2 separate regions of the Homo sapiens genome follow, and region 1 is linked to region 2. The links are contacts of gene promoters, found by promoter capture Hi-C in blood cells and fetal thymus (Javierre and others, 2016). All regions are on one chromosome and are shown on one strand. The core of a region is centred on a gene start or on the middle of the fragment in contact, and the rest is flanking DNA. Distances in the headings are between cores, read along the strand shown. Region 1 overlaps FEM1C (fem-1 homolog C). Region 2 holds the start of CDO1 (cysteine dioxygenase type 1).

Evidence for each region. Contacts are between HindIII fragments. The CHiCAGO score rates a contact against its expected background, and 5 or more counts as called.
Region 1: a contact is called between a fragment that was not itself captured here and the fragment with the promoter of CDO1 in region 2, in 1 of 17 cell types (total CD8 T cells). The highest score is 5.7, in total CD8 T cells.

Annotation. Positions count from the first base shown.
Region 1 is chr5:115,538,088-115,542,176 of GRCh38, reverse strand. The region is part of intron 2 of FEM1C (fem-1 homolog C); the gene reads left to right. Among named protein-coding and RNA genes, the nearest start is that of FEM1C, 4.6 kb to the left of the region's middle. The HindIII fragment of the contact is 474 bases long and covers 1,456-1,929 here.
Region 2 is chr5:115,815,026-115,818,904 of GRCh38, reverse strand. CDO1 (cysteine dioxygenase type 1) reads left to right here and starts at 2,246. Exons shown (of 5, transcript NM_001801.3): 1 at 2,246-2,677. The coding sequence starts at 2,508. It overlaps LOC124901049 (a long non-coding RNA gene), which reads right to left and starts at 1,817. Exons shown (of 2, transcript XR_007058908.1): 1 at 1,734-1,817. The HindIII fragment of the contact is 6,274 bases long and covers 1-3,879 here.

The sequences.
Region 1 (4,089 bases), core at 443-2,942, 280 kb after region 2:
AAGTAGTTTAGAATTTTTTTAACCCTTAAAAGCAACTGCCTTGATAGCATAATTTTGATACTTGAAAACCTTAACTTCCCTTACACGAATCTATTTATACGACAGCAAAATAATTCACTACCTAATTTTTAAAAGCCATTAAAATTTAAAAGTAGCATATAGACATGTTAAAAAAAATCAAACAGTGTAAATTGGTTTACATTGTTGGTTTACATTTGAATAAAAAGTCTTATTCCTGATTTCTAGATCTCTAATGCGCTGACAACCACTATTTACAGTTTTTTATGTGTCCTTTTAGAGTTGGTCTATGCAAATACAAGCATACTTGTCTATGTACAAGCATGCTTGTTTGTGTAGCCCTCCGTCTAGTGGTTGATTACATACTTTTTTATCTTTATTTATTTTTCTAACCTTGGATGTCATTCAACTCCAACACACATAGCTACCTCATTCTGTTTTGTGGCTATACAGTATTTCATTGTATGAATGTACATAATTTATCTAGTCTCTATTGGTTGATATTTAGGTCACATCCAGTACTTTGCTAATATAAACAATGCTGCTGTGAACATTCTTGAACAAAAATGTGTCTTTTCACGCTTGTGTGAGAATAACTGTAGTATAAATACCTGTGTTCAGAATTGCTAAATCAAAGTGAATGTACATTTGCAGTTGTGATAGTGTCTGCCTTTCAGAAAGGTTAAACCACACAATTATGGGGCACTATATAGTTACTGAGCATATTTGCTGTAGATTGTGTGATCTTTTATAAAAATGATACAAGTGTGATCTTTTATAAAAATGATACAAGATCATTGTGATTTTTCTGAATTTTTTTTTCCAGAGGAAGTGTAAAAATCCCACAAAATCCCAGTACTCAGGGATAATACTTCCAAAGATATTTCTGAATTTTGCATACTGATATATGTATGCAGTTTTATATGCTGTTCTATAACCTGTTTTTTAGCTTAATAAATGTTATCTTTAATATTACCAATTATAGCTCTTTAATTTCAATAGCTGCATACTCTTCTACTGATGGAGTTTTATGTTGCTTCCAGTTTTTCAGTATGATAAAAAATGTTTCTGTAAACATTCTTTCTAATAAGTGTTTTCATTTGTTCCTGATTATCTTTAGAGGTGGCTTGGTAGATCAAATGACAGCATGGCTTTTCTTTTTTCTCCAAACAATTATCATTCTTTTGAAGAATGCTTGTTTTAAGACAACAAATTACTGCTGAACTAACCATGTTAATATTGGGAATGGTTTGAAATCATGGCTGCTTGTTTAGGTTTGTTGAATTTTTTGTTTCTTTGTTTTGGGCTTTTTATTCATCAGCTTGATGTAGATATTATTGATAAACTCATATTTAAGTCAAATTGGGATATGTTTTAAAAGCCTATGTTATTGGAGAGATGAGAACTGGTATTACTTCCGTTATATTTTCCAAAGCTTCTTTATGTACTTGTGGAGATATAGTATATGAGAGAACTCTAATATAAATAGCTCAGATTTTTTCAGCATTTTCTCCTGAGAAGCTGTGAACAGTATTTAACTTGATTACCTTTGAGCTCTTTCAAAACAATGTTCCCTTTATCACCACTATCATCTTTTAGCCTTATATGTGAGGGTATGTCTGTTCTCTCTTTTGGCCAAACTTATTCTAAGTCATTTTTTTCCCCAGTATCAGTATCTAATATGTATGTCTTTAAAAAAACTACATATAACATGAGAAAACAATTTCATGCCAAAAATTGTTTTCTCGTAACCTCAACTTTATACCCATACACATGCATATAGATATTGTCACTTCATGTGCAGAATTTTTACCTTTTCATGGTATCTGTTAATTTCCATAGTGATTCTTCATGAATGTTGGGGGCAGATTAAAGTACATGTTCATCCTCCTCCACTCTGATCCTGAAGCTTCACTGCTCATTCTCTCATTGGTTCTGGATTTTTTTCTATGGGTTAATGGTAACAAAAGCAGGAACCAATTGAAACTAAGGCAGGGACACTGGAGAAGGATGTGATTTAGCAGCAAGAGAGGATTTTTCCCCACTTTTTTAGCCCCATTCAAAAAGTAGAAAAGATTAATAAGACTAGAGTTAAATTAGAATAATTCCTTAGGACATTTTGTGTGTCATTCACTGGAAATGGTTCTGAGGAAAGAAAATGTCAGTACATTGTGCTTGGTCTGCTTAAAGATAAAATGCATGTGACTTCTACATTCCATTACTTTTAAACAGGCGGTTGATATTTGAACATGTTATTTAACCTCTTTTCATTACTTTTTAACAGGCTATTGGCATTTTGAACATGTTTTAACCTAAGGTGGAATTCACTAATTGAGAGAGCAGTTGTTGAGTCCCGCAGTGTGCCAGGCTGTTAGACTTAGGATATACAAAGAGCAATAAGACAAGATAGCCAGTCCTTGATTCCCTGCTCTTGAGGAGCTCATGGTTTGATTGGAGAGACAGGTTCATAAGCAGATACTTAAACCACAGTATGGTAAGTGCAACAGTAGTACTTTCTTCTATTAGATATTTGGAAATGCTTTATCCCCAACAACTTATAACCTGAGGGGACAATGGTTTTCTTCTTTTCCCATGGCATTCCAAAAGGGGAGAAAATCTTTGATATATTTAGGAATACCTCTTCAGTTTAACAGTCATAGCAATTGAGTTTTGAGACGGGAGTTGGTTCCTATTTAAGAATCTAGACTGTAAATCTGTAGTGATTAGGTGAGTCCTTCTCAGAGCTATCACAGTGATCTCAGCGCTTCATGGTTATAGTCATCTTTGGCCTCCTTTGGTTCTTTTGTTTGTGTTTTGGGGTTGTTTTTGTTTGGACTTAGAACTTTGCAGATCCAAAGTTAAGTCCTCTTCAATTCCACTTTTACACCCTAATTCTAACAGAAATTGAGCAGCTAAAAGTTCTTGATTCAGTACTACAGACCAATAGAAAACGCTGTAGGCTCAGATTTGGAGACTGGCTCTAGAAGACATTCTGTCCTCATTCATCAGTCAGTTTAGATACCCAAAGTAATTAAATAAATTGGTAATAAGGTAATTAACATGCACTTTCTGTAGGCAAGGCATTCTGTGGGACATTTTGGAGGTTATGAGAAGATACGAGGTGTCACATTTTTAACTTCTGAAGGAATAGTATAAGCAATCCATGCTATAGGATTTTAGAGCGGGTGTACTGACTAGGAATGCTTCATGGAGAAAGTAGAAGTTAAACAGGGCTTTGAATTTTGGGGTTTAGATCTATGGACAGGTTGGGGTTTAGATCTGCAGAAAGTTTATTGGGATGTGGATCTGTGGAAGGGTTTTGGCAGTTTTGAAGGTTTAGGAAATGGCATAAGGAAAGGCACTTTGAAGAATATGCTTGGAGGGTCCAGGAATTGGAAAGTAGGCATATTAGAACTAAAAGGCACTCAGGGCTGAATTTTAAAGGACATTTAATCTAGGTACAGGAGTTGGATTTTATTTTTCATGCCAGTAAAAGTTTTTCAGCAGGGGACTAACTGGAGTGGTTTGTTTGTTTGCTTGTTTGTTTTCAGAGAAACTTATCTAACTGCATTCTACTACAACACTGTGACATCTAACCGCATTCTACTACATAGTCTTTGAGGCTAAAGACCTAGTGTTTTTACCCCATGCATTAGGAAGAGTATCTGGCCCTAAATGAGCTTGTTGAGTGGACATGTTGGATTTAAGAGAGGAAAGATTATAAGCTCCTTGATGGCAAGCACTATGTTTTATAGGCCTTTCTGTAGGGAAATAAATACATGCATGAAGACTTGAAGTAACAAAGTAAGACAGTAGTTGGACAAAAATGAGTAGCACAGGTAGAATATAGGGGTTCAGAAAAGGGAGAAATTCATGTAGGCATGTGGCAAGGATTGCTAGCATTAAAAGGGTTTGAGAGAACTAGTTCAGACAGATTATTTGCCTTTTCATTATGGAAATTTTCTAACTTACACAGAGAGAATACATTGAACCACTATGTATTCATCATCTTACTTCAACAATTACCCATTTGCTAAAGTTTAAAAAAAAGTTTCTACTTTCCTTTTGTTT
Region 2 (3,879 bases), core at 997-3,496:
CTTCTGTGACCCACGGCTTCTAATAGAGCTATAACACTCACCGCATGGTCCAAGGTTCCATTCCTTGGAATCCATGAGGCCAAGAACCCCAGTTCAGAGAACAAAAGGCTTGCTGCCATCCTGGGAGCGGTGGCCACCATCTTGGGAGCTCTAAGAACAAAGACCTGCCCATAAGAATTAGAGATATAGAAAATGAAGAACACAATGCAATATCAGCACACCTCTATTTGGCCAAAATTGGTAAAACTGACAATACCTGGCGAGGATGCGGGGCAACTAGAACTCATACATCACTGTTGAGAATGTGAAATGGCACAGACCCTTTGCAAATTAGTATGTCAATTTCTTGCAAATTTAAACATGCACTGACTAAATGGCCCAGCAATCTCACTCCTAGGTATTTACTCAGGTGAAATGAAAATTTCTATTCACCCGAAAAAACATTTGTTGAATAAATTAATGAATGAATAATAAACGAATGGAGCTATCATAATGTAAAATGACTAGATAATATCTAAAATTGCTGAAACAAAAAAAAATATAAGCCTATTTTTGGAAAAAGGAAGTAACTACCACAAGGAATAGTTAGAAGAGTTAAGAGACTGACTCTTTAAGCACAGGACAGATGGTCAGGAATGGTTAAAAGGGCCTGCTGCTTTTCATTGACCTTCCAGTACTATTGATTTTTTTTAACTACGTGAATATATTACTTTCATAAAAATGTAAAAAGAAAAAGAGGAGTCAGAGAAAGAAAATGAATTGTCAGAAAAATTTAGAAGTTTTATCAACTGAAATGCAGAAAAGATAAATTGTGCTTGCATTTCATTTTTGTTGTTCATTCCAAACATTTATGGATTAGACTAGCTGAAATGAAGTAATTAAGAGACTCAATAGAAAACATTGCCAAGAATAAAAAATAATTTGAGGAAACCATGAAAAGTTTACAGGTTACTCTGTCACAAAATACTTTGTTAATTCACTACCCCGCAGCAACACACATCACCAAGGCTGGCTTCTGGAATGCTTTCTACTTGTAGCCATTTTTGAACAATAGGTGATTCCGCTTTTAACAACACTGTTAGAATATAATGTAGCGAGTTTTACCAGAGATGTTTAAGACTACCTGGCACAAGTAAATTTCATTGTATACATGTATATACACGAGGGAGGGTGATCATAGTCTAGAAAAAAACAGGTCTTCAGAAGTCTAGAACTTTAATAACCTTAAATCCAAATTATTCCCTGCGTCCATCCATAATGAGAAGGAAGAAATCTACACTTGCATTTCTTCCACCTTTCACATCTTTCTCATTTAAATCCTACTGTACTTGATTTGTGTTGTTCCCAACGTACTAGGTGCTATGCATGACGTAGAAACGTGTTTCCTTATATGTATGTACTAGCAGGCTCCTTCAAGCACATGCCTAAGGTTGAAAGATTCAAATATAATTATAGCCTCTTAAATTATTGCGTCAGAGCCCGCCCTATCCCCTCAGAAAAAGCCCCCTTTTACACCATCAAATGAAATATCAGGTTATTTGCACTGGATATTTTTTAAAAGAAAATATTTGATTTTAAAATCAAAGAGTTCTTGGTTTTCCATCATTTCACTAATTGTCTTACTAGAGACCCGAGTCTCCTTTGTCAAAATATATTTCAGTACGCATTTTAAAAAATATGTGTGTGTGTATACTTAAATATATATATATATAAAGTCTTGGACTTATTTTCACCTAGCCTGGGGCATATCGTGGATAGTTTCAATCGACAAAACAGGCACTCTCTGGCCTAGGAGTGGAATCCATCCTCAATTTTCGCAGGCTCCTCACAATTCTCTATTTGGAAGAAGTGTCCCTCTCCTTCCCTTTTCTTTTCCTCCTTTACTCAGCGTCAGTCCCCGCAGCCATCTCCTCCGACCCTTTTTGTCTACGTCCCAGCGTCGCGAACCACAGCGGCGGAGGTGGAGCGGGGAGAGGCGTTAGGCCGGGCGGCTAAAACGCGCCGTTAAAGTGGGGGAGAGATTGCGCGGAGCCCACGCGATCCCTGGGACGCCGGAGACAACGGGGCTCTTGGGAAGGCGCGGAGCCCGGGGAAGCCGGGGATGTGCGCGTGAGCCGTGCCCGCAGGGTCTCCCCGCCTCCGCCACCTTTCTTGGGTGGCTCTCCGCCTCGTCCTCCCTCCGAGGGCCGTTGGTACATTCCTAGTGACTCCAAGCGCTTAAAAGGGGCCCGGGAGGATGAACCCCACAGATCTGAACCTGATTTGTGTGTGCACCGCGTCTCCAGCGATCCCGGATCCACTGCGCTGCCAGGGGCCTGGGGGTGGGTCTCTTGCTGTCTCTGCGACGACATCCTTACGTTTCGGCACTCTAATGCTGGGTTTGTGCGTGTGTGTCTGCTTAGCGGTCTAGCGGGCTGTTAGGCTCCCTCGCCCCCAGCTCCTTGGCTCGCTCAGCTCCTCCACCGCAGCCCAGCAGTGAGACGCGCGCGCAGCCAGCTCCCCACGAGATGGAACAGACCGAAGTGCTGAAGCCACGGACCCTGGCTGATCTGATCCGCATCCTGCACCAGCTCTTTGCCGGCGATGAGGTCAATGTAGAGGAGGTGCAGGCCATCATGGAAGCCTACGAGAGCGACCCCACCGAGTGGGCAATGTACGCCAAGTTCGACCAGTACAGGTGAGCGCGCTGCAGCTTCAATGCCAGGCGGCGCCCACTCGCCCCGTCTGAGGAGGAATGGACGTGGGGGACGCAGCCCAAAGTGACTGGCTCGGGAAGCTCGGGCCGCGCTGCGTCCGCCGCTCGCCCCCTCGCTGGCCAGCCGCGGGGCTGGCACGACTCGCTTGGGGCTCCGCGGCCACAGCGCAGGCGGAAGGTGGATCCTACTGGCCTTGCTGACCTCCGGCCGGGAACGGCGGACAGGCGCCGGGAAGGGAGGCCACCGCGCGTCTGCGAGATTTTCTGTTCTCTTCTCTCCCGCAAACCCCTCTGCTTCTAAACCACCAGTCCTCCTGCCCCTGGCCTCGGGAGCAATGCCCACACTCCCAAGCCATCGTTAACCCCGGGCGCGGAGATGCGGAGAGACCGCACTCAGGTTCGGGCCCTCCTGACACCTTAAGGAACCGTCTGGCCGGACTAGCAGAGGGTGCTCCCAGGGGAGCACTACATCAGCCATCGGGAGAAGTGTGTGATGTTGAAGAAGACAAGTCACCCGCGTCAGTTCTCCATCACTGCGCCTTCGGTCGCCTGCAACCGGGCACCTTATAGCAAGCATTTTTACTCATGTAAAATAGCGTCTTGTGGCCGTCAGCTGCCACTACGGAATTTCTGCTGTTCCCTTTCCCAAACCAATTTAACTAACTTCCCCGACTGTGGGTTTATTCAAATCCACTGCCAAGTTTCGCAGATTAAATATTCGACCGTCGTTTTTTTCAGCCCCCAAATGATCTGATTTATCTTATCCTTGCTTCTGACGATCTGTAATGTAAATTAAAGACCCCTACTTCCCAGATGTACTTGAGTGAGGTGCCCTGGTAAGCTGGCTTTTTTGCAGCCCCGGCTTGGTGATTAAGTCGAATCTCTCTACCAATCCTCCGGGGCCAGAGGTAAAATTTAATCACCCCGAAGTGTGAGAGGTTCTACTTTTTCTGAGCAGTTAGTGCGTCAGTCTTTGTGGTTTTTTGGGTTTAGGGTTAGGAGAAAGGGGTAAGTGAAAGAAAAGAATAAGGAAAGAAGTAAGTTTGTTTTTCTTGGGAGCAGGTTCTTTTAGTCACTCTTCAACATGTGGGATGTTTCGTAAAGTTTTGTTGGCATGGGCGGTTTCAACTGTATTTTAGGATTTGAAATAGAAAAAGTGAAGACCACTAAGGATCCCATTTTTC